Regions from separate parts of the Homo sapiens genome. Here all the other regions are linked to region 3. Evidence: promoter capture Hi-C in 16 types of primary human blood cells and fetal thymus (Javierre and others, 2016). All regions are on one chromosome and are shown on one strand. The core of a region is centred on a gene start or on the middle of the fragment in contact, and the rest is flanking DNA. Distances in the headings are between cores, read along the strand shown.

Region 1 (2,700 bases), core at 122-2,621, 440 kb before region 3:
CAAGACCACTGGGACACCCACCCCCCAGCTGAACACCTACTGGAGGTGCAGCAAGCCACATCCAAGGAACCTGGCCACCATTGAGTTTAAGTCCACTCCCTGTCTTATGGCAAGTGGGTCTGGATCTCTGAGGGCAAGGGTCAGATGCTCACAGAACCCAGCTACTCTGTCATGGCTCAAACAGGAAGAGTTGGTACCCAGGTTTCAACCTTGCTTGTGCTGGCCACCAAAGCCCATTCACTGGCTCACCTCTGATTTTCCCACCAAAACACTAAACAGAGGTTCCGAAGAACCTGGGGGTCTCTATATCCCATCATGAACTTATCCAATAAGGGACAAAGGTACTACATTTCGTCTGTGTTCGCTAGCCTCTGCCTTTGGTGTCATTGGAGGCAGGGATCTCTCTGTGGCTCCAAAGCCATAGAATCATCCTGGGCACTGGCGATGCCACAGCTTGGCCTCCTTCTGTTAGCAATGAGAAGCAGGAAAGGCTGACAAAGCCAGGGGAACATTGGGGGAAATAGGGAGGTGGAGGGAGATCAGGAGCTGCTTCCCAAGAAAGACCTGTGTAGTCTTCAGTTTGAGACCTGCAATGAAACAGCTCTTGTGGCCACAGCAGGTAGTGGAGGCAGGTGTCCCAGTCCCCAGAGGGTTTCAGAGGGCCACGTTCCCATGGGCCATTTGGCTTGGAGTGCTCTCTGTGATAGGTTGCATGTGCGCATCAAATCTCTGGAGATTTTTTCTGAGATGGTGAGATGAGACCAAGGAACGCTTGTTGGCTTTCTTCTCTGCCCCATACCCACAGAACCCACTCCATCTCCCTGGAGGTGTAACCCCTGTTCGTTGGAGAAAACCTAAGTCCATTTCCTACTTCATTCTCTCTGATTAGGCCTCAGCACTTTTTCCTTTGGGGTGAGGGTAGAGTCCAACTGTGCCTCTAGTCCCAAAGCTCCAAACTGCTCAGACCCACCAGGCAGTGGCCTAAGGCAGCGAATTCGTGTGCCTCTGTATAATGACAGCTGTCACTCAAGCTTTACTTCTGCTCCCTGCCATGGACCCAACAGCCTCTAACTCTCCAGGATCACTGAAGCTCTTTTCCAGCCTGCACTTTTGTACTCCCCTTCCATCTCCCTTACCCTCTCAAGTAGCAGGGCACTCAACACAGGTGTTTTTGCTGGCTTTGAACTGAATATTAGGTCCTTTCTTTTCTAGCAGGGGCCAAACTCCGCTGTAGCAGCATGAAAAGTTGTGAAGGCTCAGAAAAAGTGAGGCTTGAGGGATTTGGGAAAAGCTATGGGGATAGGGGATAGACTCACCTTGTCCTCAACCTAAAGGGCAACCTGACCTTGCTAATGGAAGTTCTTAGGATTAGGAAATTCTCAGGGTGACAGCTGTCTCCCCAAAGTAGACACAGCAAAGTGGGAATGAACATTTTCTTTACGCCTGTATAGGTCTATACATTTCCAGCCAAGGAGAATGAGAGGGGCAGGCTGAGGGCTCAGGGAAGAGAGATAGGGAGGCAGAGACACAGAGACAAAGAGAAATATACAGAGACAGAGAAACGGTGAAAGAGAGAAAGAGAATGAGACAGAGACAAACATGAGACTGTCAGATCTCAATGCAGTGATAAAGAGCCTGAGATGGATGAGAGTGAGAGGGTGAGTTTTCACGGAAGATACCACGGTTATCCCCACTTTACACCCTTGTCAAGTAAGCTTGACGTTCTCCAGGGAACTTGACCTTCCAGGCTTTGCCCACCTGGTCAGGAGAGCTCTGTCAAAGGTGAGCACAGCGGTTTTGTCACAGCCAGTGGAGATGCTCAAGCTCGAGAGCAGTCTGTGAAGAAAAGCGAAGGAGCACAGGGTGGGGAAGTAGTGGTCAGCATGAATAGAGGGATTAGTGGGGTCACAAAGTAGAAGCAAGGCGTGGGAAGCTAGGTGATCAGGAAAGACTTCGTGGGTGTTTTGCCCGGGAGAGTGTGGTTACTACTTGGAAGCTGCAGGGCTTTTAACCAAAAGCATCACGCACTTCCTTCGAGCTGGAATCGAACCAGCGACCTAAGGATGTCCGCAAATGTCTATACAATCTACAGTCCTCCGCTCTACCAGCTGAGCTATCGAAGGATGCATGCTATCAAAGCTGGTTCATTGGACTTTCTGCAAACAGAGGGAGCCACATCCCTGGAATGCTTGAGGTCCAATACGCGTTGGGTTGGTTGGCACCCACCTTGGAAGAGAACCCTGCGCCGCTTGACACCACACCCCTTTCAGGGCGGAGCAAATCCTCTGGGCGAGGATGCCTGGTGTCTCTCGGGCTCTGATAGCCACCATCCACGAGGAGGAGCTCTCATCTGTGACAGCCTTCCTCTCCCTGAGCATCCACCTTTCTACAGGTGAGGATGACAGCCCCCAGTGGCCTGAGAGAAAATGAGAAGGTGAGTCAGCGAGGGCACAGGGATTGGCGAGGTGGTTGGGTGGGTCTAGTCGGGGAGAGAACGCTGGAGGAGGAAAAGAGGAGAACCCTAATGGGCGCTGGATAGGCAGCTGACAACTCCAACCCAACCTCAGAGTCTGGTGCAGGTCTCTAATGGGCGCTTCCATAATAGTCTGGCCTCTCTACTCCCTCCCCTACCACACACACAGGGCCCTCCTCCCCAGGTGCCCCGCCCTTCTCCTCATAGTAGTCTATGCTCACATTTTG
Region 2 (2,700 bases), core at 15-2,514, 400 kb before region 3:
TTTTCTAGGCACCTCTAAGATACTGATGGCTCTGCAGAGGACCCATTCATTGCTTCTGCTTTTGCTGCTGACCCTGCTGGGGCTGGGGCTGGTCCAGCCCTCCTATGGCCAGGATGGCATGTACCAGCGATTCCTGCGGCAACACGTGCACCCTGAGGAGACAGGTGGCAGTGATCGCTACTGCAACTTGATGATGCAAAGACGGAAGATGACTTTGTATCACTGCAAGCGCTTCAACACCTTCATCCATGAAGATATCTGGAACATTCGTAGTATCTGCAGCACCACCAATATCCAATGCAAGAACGGCAAGATGAACTGCCATGAGGGTGTAGTGAAGGTCACAGATTGCAGGGACACAGGAAGTTCCAGGGCACCCAACTGCAGATATCGGGCCATAGCGAGCACTAGACGTGTTGTCATTGCCTGTGAGGGTAACCCACAGGTGCCTGTGCACTTTGACGGTTAGATGCCACCATGTAGGGATTATCGCGAGTGGTTGACCTTACACTTACTCCTTAAATAGCAGTGAGTAATGCATTTGAGCTGTCCCAGGCTCTGTCTCCTCAGCTCATTTCCTACTCTTTTTCTCTATATAACTCATTCTATTAAATACATTGCACCAAAGAGATATGGAGACATAAACCTGTAATGAATGAGGCTGGGCTTTTCTGTAATAAGCTTCCTTTTATAATACTGGTCAGCTTAGCTCTCTCAGATCCTATCCTGTGGAATTTAGTTATTATGTGTATTTATGTAGTATTTCAAACATTTCAAAATGCTTTCATCTATGTTTATCACATTTTAATACCACAGCACTTATAATGATGTCACTACATATAGAAGCTCAAAGTTAAGGGATTTGCTGAAGACTGTAAAGTTAATGGAAGAATTGAGACAAAAATCCAGTGTAGCTGGCCACTTATCCAGGGCTTTTTCTACTTCATCACAAGGAATGTTTTGAAAGTGTCTGCTTTTTTTATCCTTAAAATTCACCTGTCAGGGAGGCATTAAAAATTTGGAAATGTATGCCAGCAAAATGTGAGCTCTGTATTTTTTGGCATTCTTATGTTTGGGTTTAATAAGATTAAGAAAATGATACTGGGAATTTTCTTTTTCCTGAAACTTTGAATCACCCTAGTAAGTCAAAGTACTAAAAAATGTACTAGATCATTAAGACTTATGTGCTCTTACTGATTGAAAGATTTTTTATGTTTTCCTTGTAATAAAGGACCTAAACCGAAGGTACCTGAGAAGACTGTGCTATGGTATTATTTTTTTTCTCTGACTTTTAAATTCTTGTTTAGTTTATAAACATGCATGCACCTTAATAACCTCATAAACTCTGGTCAAAGACTAATGCCTATCAGATCCATGACCACAACACAGAAGATTTGTCTCATTTACTCCAGAGAGAATGATTCCTCTCAAAGACAATTCTCACAGCTCTTCCTTCTCCCTTAGAATATTTAGAAGCAAATTAGGGAGCTGTCAGGTCTCTGAGCCCAAGCCTGCACGTATACATCCAGATGGCCTGAAGCAACTGAAGAACCACAAAAGAAGTGAAAATAACCAATTCCTGCCTTAACTGATGACATTCCACCACTGTGATTTGTTCCTGCCCCACCTTAACTGATCAATTAGCCTTGTGACATTCCTTCTCCTGGACAATTAGACTCAGGAGCTCCCCACCAGAGCACCTTGTGACCCCCGCCCCTGCCCGCTAGAGAATAACCCACTTTGACCGTAATTTCCCACTACCAACCCAAATCCTATAAAACTGCCCCACCCCATCTCCCTTTGCTGACTCCTTTTTTGGACTCAGTCTGCCTGCACCCAGGTGATTAAAAAGCTTTATTGCTCACACAAAGCCTGTTTGGTGGTCTCTTCACATGGACGCGTGTGGCATTTAGTGCCGAAGACCCAGAACAGGGGGACTCCTTCAGGAGACTGGTCCCCTGTCCTCGCCTTCACTCCATGAGGAGGTCCACCTATGACCTCAGGTCCTCAGACCAACCAGCCCAAGGAACATCTCACCCATTTCAAATTGGGTAAGCGGTCTTTTCACTGTCTTCTCCAGCCTCTCTTGCTACCCTTCAATCTCCCTGTCCTTCCAATTCCAGTTCTCTTTCCTCTCTAGTAGAGACAAAGGAGACGCATTTTATCCATGGACCCAAAACTCAGACACCAGTCACGGACTCGGGAAGATAGTCTTCCCTTGGCGTCTGATCATTGTGGGGATGCCTGCCCTGATCATTCACCCACATTCCATTGGTGTCTGATCACTGTGGGGACACCTGCCATGGTCATTCACCCACATTCCCTTGATGGCAAGTCAATCGCGGGATGCCTGCTTTGGCTGATCGTCCACGTTATAGCCCAGGGCTGCTCACCACCCCCTTTGCTGTGTCTCTACCTTTCTCTTTAAACTTACTTCTTCACTGTGGGCAACCTTCCACCCTGCATTCCCCCTTCTTCTCCCTTAGCCTGTGTTCTCAAGAACTTAAAACCTCTTCAACTCACACCTGACCTAAAACCTAAATGCCTTATTTTCTTCTGCAATACCGTTTGGCCCTAATACAAACCCAACAATGGTTCCAAATGGCCAGAAAACGGCACTTTTGATTTCTCCATCTTACAAGATCTAGATGATTTTTGTCGAAAAATGGGGAAATAGTCTGAGGTGCCTGACATCCAGGC
Region 3 (2,700 bases), core at 81-2,580:
CACCTGCTGCCATCCCACCATGGGGAATCTTATCCCAGAGGCATGTCCTAACGCAACCCCGATTTTGATTTTGAAAGTTCTGGAAGACCTGGGTTTGGGAAAGAGGGGCATGTAGCCAGCCCTAAGTCCCTTTAAGTGGAGCTGACCCTAGAAAAGTCAGTCTTAGCACCCACGTGAGCCTCGGTCCTCAGACTGGGAGGTAGGGGCGATCAAGGGAGCCTCTGGGAAAATCCCCCTCCCAGAAATAGATTGCTAAGTAGGGTAGGACCTGCTATCCTGCCGGAGAGGTTTTTCCAGCAGCACCCCAGACCCCTCCCCAGGAAGATAAGCCAGAAGGATGATGGGGGGCAGGGTTGGGAGATAGGGAGGCCAAGGCTCAGCTACCCCCGGCCAGGAGAACAAAAGCTGAGTTACAGCCGCCTCCGCTGCTGCCGCGGGCCGAGCTCTTTGTGACACTTTGTTTGGGACGCAAAGAGGGAAGCACCCCCCATCCTTTCCCCTCCCCCGCCACCCCGTGCTTCCAGAGAGTTTGGGCTCCTTCCCCCTCCCCCACCAGCCCTACCTGGGCCGGGGGTTGGGGGGTGCACATCCACTCAGGCTCGCGGCTCTGCCGCCCCTCACCCCCAGGTCCCTCGCGCCCTGCCTTCGGGCCCCTACAAAGACACCCGCCACCTCCCCCGCCACATCCCCCCCGTTGGCCCTTCCCTTTGGTGTCTGCTCCCCCAGCTCTTCCACCTGGCCCCCCCTCCCTTGGGGCCCCCCAGCTCTCCAGGCTTCCGAGGCCGCCACCCCCACCCCGCCCCCCCAGGAGCTCTGGGCGAAGTTTGCTTGGGGCCGAGCCGGCGCCCCTCCCCCGCCCCCGCCCCCTGCACCTGCTCCGAGCCGGGCGCGCTGAGCGGGCCCCCCCTCCGGGAGGGGGGAGGGGGCCGGGGGCGGGGGCCGGGTGGCGGACGGGGGGGCCCGGGAGTCGGGGGAGCGGCTACTCACGAGCCCCGGGCGGGCGGCGGCGGAGCGGGCGGCGGCGGCGGCGGCGGCGGCGGGCGGCGGGCCGGCGGCGCGGGCGTCAGCGTTACGTGGGGCCGGGGGAGATGCGCCGGGCCCCGGCCCCCCCGCCCCCGGCCCGGCCCCCGCCCCCTCCCCGGTCCCCCGCCCCCGGCCCTGGCCCGCATTGTGTGCGGCGGGAGGCGGCCCGGCCATTAGCATGCGGGGGGCGGCGCGGCGGGGCTGGGAGCCGCGCGGGAGCCGGGCTCTGGCTCCGGGGACAGGGAGCTGGGGACCCCGGGAGCCGCGAGAGGCGGCCGCCAGGGGCGGGGTGCGGGCGGTTTGGAGACGGGGGGCGCTGTCGGAGGGAGGGAGGAAGGGAGGGAGCGGGGGTGGGGCGCACAGAGGATTCCAACAGGAGACTGGAAGAGATTTTGAAAGGTCATCTCGTCCTTCCCCCAGCCTCCAAGCAGCACTGCCCCTCCCTCCCTAAACCCGGACATACCAGGGAAGGAGTTGGCTCTGCCGCTCTTTCTGCCCCAACATGCACAGACTCGGGAAGTTCTTCCTGGGGTTTTATCTCAAAGCCTCTCCCTTACAATTTCTGTCTCTCTTTTGGGGGAGGAGGAGGGGCGATTATAGAGATAGTTAATGTCGGCCGTATAAGAAACATTATTAAAGTTACTCTTCGGTCCTTTCCGTTCTTGATAAACAATTCCTGCGCCTTCCTCTCGAATTCTATTTTCCATTCCTCAAGTCACTTTAATGGCTCTTCAATACAACAAATATTTACTGAGTGCTTACTAAGTGCCAGGCACTGGGCTCAGCGCTGTGAGGGATGAGAAAGAAGTGGTACCTTCCTTCCAGGCGATTGTAGTCTAGACTACAAACTGGTAAGTAGTATACTCAGATTTAGTCAATATTTACTGAATGCCTGTTCACCTATCTAATAGTATATAATCTTTCCAATAACCCTCTATAATTAAATTAGCCCCCATTTACAAGTAAGAAAAATGAGGCTTCAGGAAGTCTGTTTCCCCAGTGGCCTGCAGGCTCGGGGATCCTCAGTGCAAGCCCAACATCTCACATCGCCACCAAATAAAATCAATGCACGTGGGAATTGAGGAGGAGTAGACACACAGCAGTTTTCTGGATCTCTTTAAAACGTGACTCCCACTCCCCGGGAAAGAAAAGAGTAGATACAATGACCCGCCGATGTTGGCACAGCACTGATGGGGCAGGAGTGGCTTACAAAAGATCACTTGCCTCCCAGGACCCTGCCTCCCTCCTCGTACTAACTTCTAGAGTCTTCTGGCGCAGTCTCCTCTTATCGTCAACAACAAGAAATAATAATAGTGATGATGATCATAGCCACTAACATTGAGCACTTGTGTACCAGGTACTGGGCTAAGCTCTCTTCCATGCTGAAAGCAACCCCTTGAGACTGGTATTATTAACTTCCTTTTATAGATAAGGGAACAGAGAGATTAAGCAACTTGCCAAGGGCACCTAGGTAGATCTGGGATTTGTTTTGATCTATAGAGTATATTTGGGCCCAGCTGGTTCTGCTTCCGACTGTAGAAATGTGTCCCCAGCTTCCTTCTGAATAACACTTTTAGTGTATGGGCATCAGACTTATCGGTGTGACCTCATCAGCACCACTAATAGTTATTAAACACCCACCCTGAATCAACAACTCTTCACAGTCATATTGTTAGC
Region 4 (2,700 bases), core at 83-2,582, 340 kb after region 3:
TTCCAGTCCAACTAGACTACACAATTCCCTTAATGTGATTCCTACCTGTGTGACTTTGCTTATGATGCTGTGCTTTCTGCCTGGAACACGTCCTCTCCATCCCAATGCCAATAATCTCTCGCAGCTAAAATCCTACCAACCCTCAAAGGTCTTCTACTCCATTAAGTGAGCCCTGAACCTCTGACGCTTTAACAACTGAGCAACTTGTGATGACTTGATCCCTCCACCTCCTTTAAATACCCACACCATTGTTTATACCTTAAAACACTTATATTTAATATTTTATTATAATGACCTAAGTCTGTAATATATCCTCTGAAGGCCCAAATGGTTCCTTTGCGCAAATTGTAAAAAGTTGCCCACTTCTCAAGATGCCTGGAAAACTGCCATACTAAATATATAAAAATTTGTTATGAATGTATGCAATGTACACCCTCCACAACTCTGTACCATGGCCCAGCTCCTCTTTCTCTGGGAGAAAGTTCTTGGATGGTGGGGACTATGTTTTATTTATCTGTGGATCCCCTAAGAACCAGCAGGACATAGCACATATAGTAGCTAATCAAAAAACAGTTAATGAATTATACTTGCTCGCATTATCTGGAGTAAACCATTCGATCCTCACAGAAACTAAATGGTATCCTTTGATTCTAACATGAGATGGTAAAAAGCTTCCTATCTTGAAAACATGTCTTATGAATGGCTGAAAGTAGGTTCACAAAATCCATGTCTAGGGTTTTAAGTTCATGAAACTAGTGGAAAAAAGAAAAGCTATCAAAGACAGGGAAGTATATCACCATAAAACCCAAATATATGAAAAAGAAATATCTGTTCTTTGTATATGATGACAGTATTTGACAATACAGGAAAGTCTTGCTTGGTAAGACCATTTCTCCTAACTTTTGGAAGACACCAGATAAGAAATTTGTCAGAGGCACAGTCCTGACTGAAGGAGACTTTTCCATATAACCCCCATGCTATGTTTTTTCCTTCCCAACCCATCTCACTTATCCTTATAAAACAATATAATATGGGTTAATATATCAGATACTCCAAAACAGACAAAGAGAACAAACACGTGAGTCAAAATTACAAAGTATACATGGTATCTCCAACAATGTTAAACAAGATCGTCCTTGCTTCAGTAATTGCATACTTTTCATATCTCAACCCAAGATCCATACCATCTCCCATTCCTGGCTAGCCTATTCCACCAGCTCATTCCAGCCTCTCATATCTAATATTTGCCTCCAAATTACTCAAAATGGCAATCAGGAAAGTTATGAATGCTTCCTGATTTAACGAAAACCTACTCAATAACTTGATATTAATAAATTTCCTTCCCATTATCATCAGCTTTTTTCCAGTATACCTACTTTGGCACCAATTATTTTTCATTCTCTACTCACCGTCAGAAGTTAAAGTATCTACAGCTAGGAGTAATATAAAAACAACAGTGAAAGTTTCTTTTTTTTTTTTTTTTTTTTTCTGAGACAGAGTTTCACTCTTGTCGCCCAGGCTGGAGTGCAATGGCGCGATCTCGGCTCACCGCAACCTCTACCTCCTGGGTTCAAGCGATTCTCCTGCCTCAGCCTCCCGAATAGCTGGGATTACAGGCCTGCGCCACCACACTCGGCTAATTTTGTATTTTTAGTAGAGACAGGTTTTCGCCACGTTAGTCAGACTGGTCTCGGACTCTCGACTTCAGAGGTGAGCCGTCGCCTCAGCCTCCCAAAGTGCTGGGATTATAGGCATGAGCCACCACGCTGAAAGTTTCTACTAACCAGAAGTTTACGTTGCAAATAGTTTATAGCCTGCTCCTTATTCCATGGAGTATTTTGTCGCTTCCATGATTCCTTGCTATTTGTTAATTCTAATGCTCTTCCTTTCCCCCATAATGATCCAATCTTAGGCCCAGATTTTTTTTTTTTTAAATAGGAGAAACAAGGCTGATGGTTTCTGATGAATCTCCTTACCCCCATATGACTTAGTATAAGCTTTTTAAAGATCAATGCATTGTCATTTATCTCTCCCTTCCCAATTTTCGAACCAAATTTCTGCTTCTTCTAGTTCGGTCTATGCCTAATAATTCAAAAACCTTGCCACCAAGTATCATTACTTCTCAGTCCCATCATTCTCACCTATACTGACCCAATTCATCTCATATTTTTATGCTAGTTTCCTACTTCTTTTCTAGTTCCTATCTTTAAACTGTCCTTGACTCTTACAAGATTAAACCTTCTCCCAACATACATCTAACTTTTTTTAACCCTCCTTCTACTACTACTTGTGGGTCACCCTGGCTATATCCACATACGGCCTATTTATTCTACCAAGCTCATCTATCTCATGAATCCTCTCAACCATCTCATGAATTCTCTTTCCTTGATTCAAACCCTAATAGCAAAAATGAACAGATGTTAAGTTGGTTTCAATGCAAAGTAACTGCCTAGATAAAGAAGTCACACCAACTTTTATCATATTAAGAATGAAAAGCCAGTGTTGGCCCACCAGTCCCCAAAAGAGAAACACATGTATGTGCTCAAAAGGAAAGACAAAACTTAGTGGTTGTACTTAGTCACTTTCCATAATTACAAACTAATGACCAGAATCATGACAGAAATCTTGGAGGGCATGTAGGGGGTGAGGGATGGCAGTGGAAGGGAAAAGTAACAAACTAGTCAGTTAAGGTTAAAATCC
Region 5 (2,700 bases), core at 13-2,512, 460 kb after region 3:
AAAAATGTAAGCAAATAAATAACTACAGAATGAATGATAATTAAACAGGGTAGTGGGTCAGAAAGTGAAGAGAAAGAGTGGGGCTGGTGGTTAAGGAATTAGAGGGAAGACTTGATTCCATCTCAAGGTAGAAAGCTGTTCATATGCAGATCAACTGCTATCTGTGAATGGATACCCGAATATTGTCACAAACAAACTGAAATGCAAATACTCTTAGAAACTGGGGTATTAGTAATGCAAGTATGAAAAACATCTGATTTAAGCAGAACAACAACAACAAAACACCCTCATCATTCTTTGAATGACTTAATCTGTGAATGAAAACATTCACATCCTCATGATTTTGATGACAGAATAGATGATTTTTCTTTGTGCTGAGTTTGTTATCTCAAGCTGGAACTAAGTAAGGCTAGTCAAGGCCATCTGATTCTTATTGCTCATTCATTCATTCATTCATTCATTCATTCAACCAATATTTTACTGAGAGCTTGCTGTATGCGGAATTATGCTTTGCCTGGGGAATGCAGTGGAGGTTTTTTCCTTGGAGTTCTCTTACTCCAAAGGGCTTTAACCTTGGACAGGTTCTGACACTTGTCTGCTGACGTTTTTGTTTTGTTTTGTTTTGTTTTGTTGAGACAGGGTCTTGCTCTGTTGCCCAGGCTGGCAAAAAGATAACGGCTCACTGTGGCCTTGAACTCCTGGGCTAAGGCGATCCTCCCACTGCAGCCTTCAGAGTAGCTGGGACTATAGGTGTGAGCCACCATGCCCAGCTAATTAAAACAATTTTTTTTTTTTTGTGGAGATGGGATCTCCCTCTATTGCCCAGGTTGGTCTCAAACTCCTAGGCTCAAGTGATCCTCCTGCCTCATCCTCCCAAAATGTCGGGATTACAGGTGTGAGCCATGGTGCCTAGCCTGTTGATTTTTTTTTGGATAAGAGATAGAGAGGACCTGGTAATATACAAGGCCCAGAGTGTGTCCTAAGATGATCTATGGGGAGAGAACAGAGTATCCCTGACTGAAGAGTTTTGGAAACTATTTTAATGTTCCCCAATTTTATTTGAACTAAAAAACATTGTCTGCCTTTCACATTCCTTCGTGCACTCCACCTCACCACTGCTCCCCCGGCACCTGTTGGCCTCTTTTGCTATCCAAATTTACCAAATAAATCTTCCCCGCCTTTCTACCCATCTGCTGTTCTTCACAGCTTGTCTCTGGGCTCAGCCCCAAGCCTGGAGGGGCAGTAAATGGATTCAGAGTTGCTGCTCAAACATGGATTCCCATGGAAACCAAACGACTAAGAAAACAAATAGGGAGGAAGAGGCAGCCACTGCCTGACCTCTTACCCTCCCCCTCCAAATTCTTTTCGCTTTTCAGCATGAAAGCAAGCGCTTATTTGTATAACTAGTAGAAGGACATAACCTGACCCCTCCCCCCACCCCCAAATTCTTTAAGAATCTCTCGTTCGACAATGAGTAAATGAAAGACAGTGGGACATCGCCACCTGGTGGTAGAAATGCCAAAATACTTAAGAAGAGAGAACTCAATTAACAAGTGAAAGCCTGCGATACAGGCCAGTAAGTATACAAAGAAGTAACATTCAGATACAAAAATAAGATACAAAGAAGTAACATTCAGAAGCCACTCCTAGGAAACTGTTTAATTGTGATGCAGTTAGTACTTGTTCCTTCTCACATATACAGATTTAAATATCATCTTTATGTTGGTGAATTTTTATTTTTATTTTTTAAAAATTTTATTTATTTATGTATTTATTTTTGCGACGGAGTCTCACCCTGTCGCCCAGGCTGGAACGCAGTGGCGCAATCTCGGCTCACTACAACCTCCGCTTCCTGGGTTCAAGCGATTCTCATGTCTCAGCCTCCCGCGTAGTTGGGGATTACAGGCACCTGCATTATGCCCGGCTAATTTTTGTAGAGACAGGGTTTCACCATGTTGGCCAGGCTGGTCTTGAATTACTGACCTCAGGTGCCTCAGCCTCCCAAAGTGCTGGGATTACAGGCGCGAGCCACCACGCCCGGCCGAATTTTTTTTTTTTTTTTTTTGCATCCAATTCAAATATGGGAACATGAGGTTTAGTCTTATCTCTCCCAACTCCATACCAGATTTTTTTTTTGTTTGTCTGTTTGAGACGGAATCTCACTCTGTCGCCCAGGCTGGAGTGCAGTGATGCAATCTCAGCTCACTGCAACCCCCACCTCCCGGGTTCAAGCGATTCTCTTGCCTAAGCCTCCCGAGTAACTGGGACTAATACACGCACACGCCACCATGCCCAGCTAACTTTTGGATTTTTAGTAGAGATGGGGTTTCACCATGTTGAGCAGGCTGGTCTCGAACTCCTGACCTCAGATGATCCACCCGCCTCGGCCTCCCAAAGTGCTGGGATTACAGGTGTGAGTCACTGTGCCCAGCCATATTAGATATTTTTTATCTGAACGTCATGCTGTTGCTACAGATTCAGTGGAGTTGGACAGTACTTTTCTCTTCCCGTCCTTTCCCTTCCATAGGGTAGCATTTGCTGGCTTACAAAGGAAAAGCAGAAGCTTTGCTCCACTATCTTGTCTTGTCTTGTCTTGTCTCTTTTCTTTTTCTTTTTTTTTTCGTCTTCTGTTCAGATAGTCTCACTCTGTCACCCAGGCTAGAGTGCAGCCGTGTTATCATGGATGGGTTACTGCAGCCT

Evidence for each region. Contacts are between HindIII fragments. The CHiCAGO score rates a contact against its expected background, and 5 or more counts as called.
Region 1: a contact is called between a fragment that was not itself captured here and the fragment with the promoter of ZNF219 in region 3, in 1 of 17 cell types (naive B cells). The highest score is 5.3, in naive B cells.
Region 2: a fragment that was not itself captured here is called in contact with the fragment with the promoter of ZNF219 in region 3 in 8 of 17 cell types (naive B cells, total B cells, fetal thymus and 5 more); the score reaches 7.2 in naive B cells.
Region 4: a contact is called between a fragment that was not itself captured here and the fragment with the promoter of ZNF219 in region 3, in 1 of 17 cell types (fetal thymus). The highest score is 5.7, in fetal thymus.
Region 5: a contact is called between a fragment that was not itself captured here and the fragment with the promoter of ZNF219 in region 3, in 1 of 17 cell types (naive CD8 T cells). The highest score is 5.2, in naive CD8 T cells.

Annotation. Positions count from the first base shown.
Region 1 is chr14:20,655,435-20,658,134 of GRCh38, forward strand. TRY-GTA4-1 (tRNA-Tyr (anticodon GTA) 4-1) reads right to left here and starts at 2,123; the gene lies at 2,030-2,123. LOC124903281 (a long non-coding RNA gene) reads left to right here. Exons shown (of 2, transcript XR_007064059.1): 2 at 2,271-2,700. The HindIII fragment of the contact is 684 bases long and covers 1,030-1,713 here.
Region 2 is chr14:20,699,347-20,702,046 of GRCh38, forward strand. It overlaps RNASE4 (ribonuclease A family member 4), which reads left to right. Exons shown (of 2, transcript NM_002937.5): 2 at 9-1,870. The coding sequence starts at 26. The coding sequence ends at 469. EGILA (EGFR interacting lncRNA) reads right to left here. Exons shown (of 4, transcript NR_174964.1): 2 at 1-152. Among named protein-coding and RNA genes, the nearest start is that of EGILA, 6.2 kb to the right of the region's middle. RefSeq lists a silencer at 305-470. The HindIII fragment of the contact is 1,171 bases long and covers 680-1,850 here.
Region 3 is chr14:21,097,325-21,100,024 of GRCh38, forward strand. It overlaps ZNF219 (zinc finger protein 219), which reads right to left and starts at 1,331. Exons shown (of 5, transcript NM_016423.3): 1 at 988-1,331. It also overlaps a transcript of TMEM253 not described here. RefSeq lists enhancers at 1-253, 1,013-1,513. The HindIII fragment of the contact is 7,101 bases long and covers 1-2,700 here.
Region 4 is chr14:21,432,573-21,435,272 of GRCh38, forward strand. The region is part of intron 1 of CHD8 (chromodomain helicase DNA binding protein 8); the gene reads right to left. Among named protein-coding and RNA genes, the nearest start is that of CHD8, 22 kb to the right of the region's middle. The HindIII fragment of the contact is 1,326 bases long and covers 670-1,995 here.
Region 5 is chr14:21,556,285-21,558,984 of GRCh38, forward strand. No RefSeq gene overlaps it. Among named protein-coding and RNA genes, the nearest start is that of OR10G3, 22 kb to the right of the region's middle. RefSeq lists enhancers at 1,268-1,811, 1,812-2,355 and a silencer at 2,374-2,560. The HindIII fragment of the contact is 2,598 bases long and covers 1-2,561 here.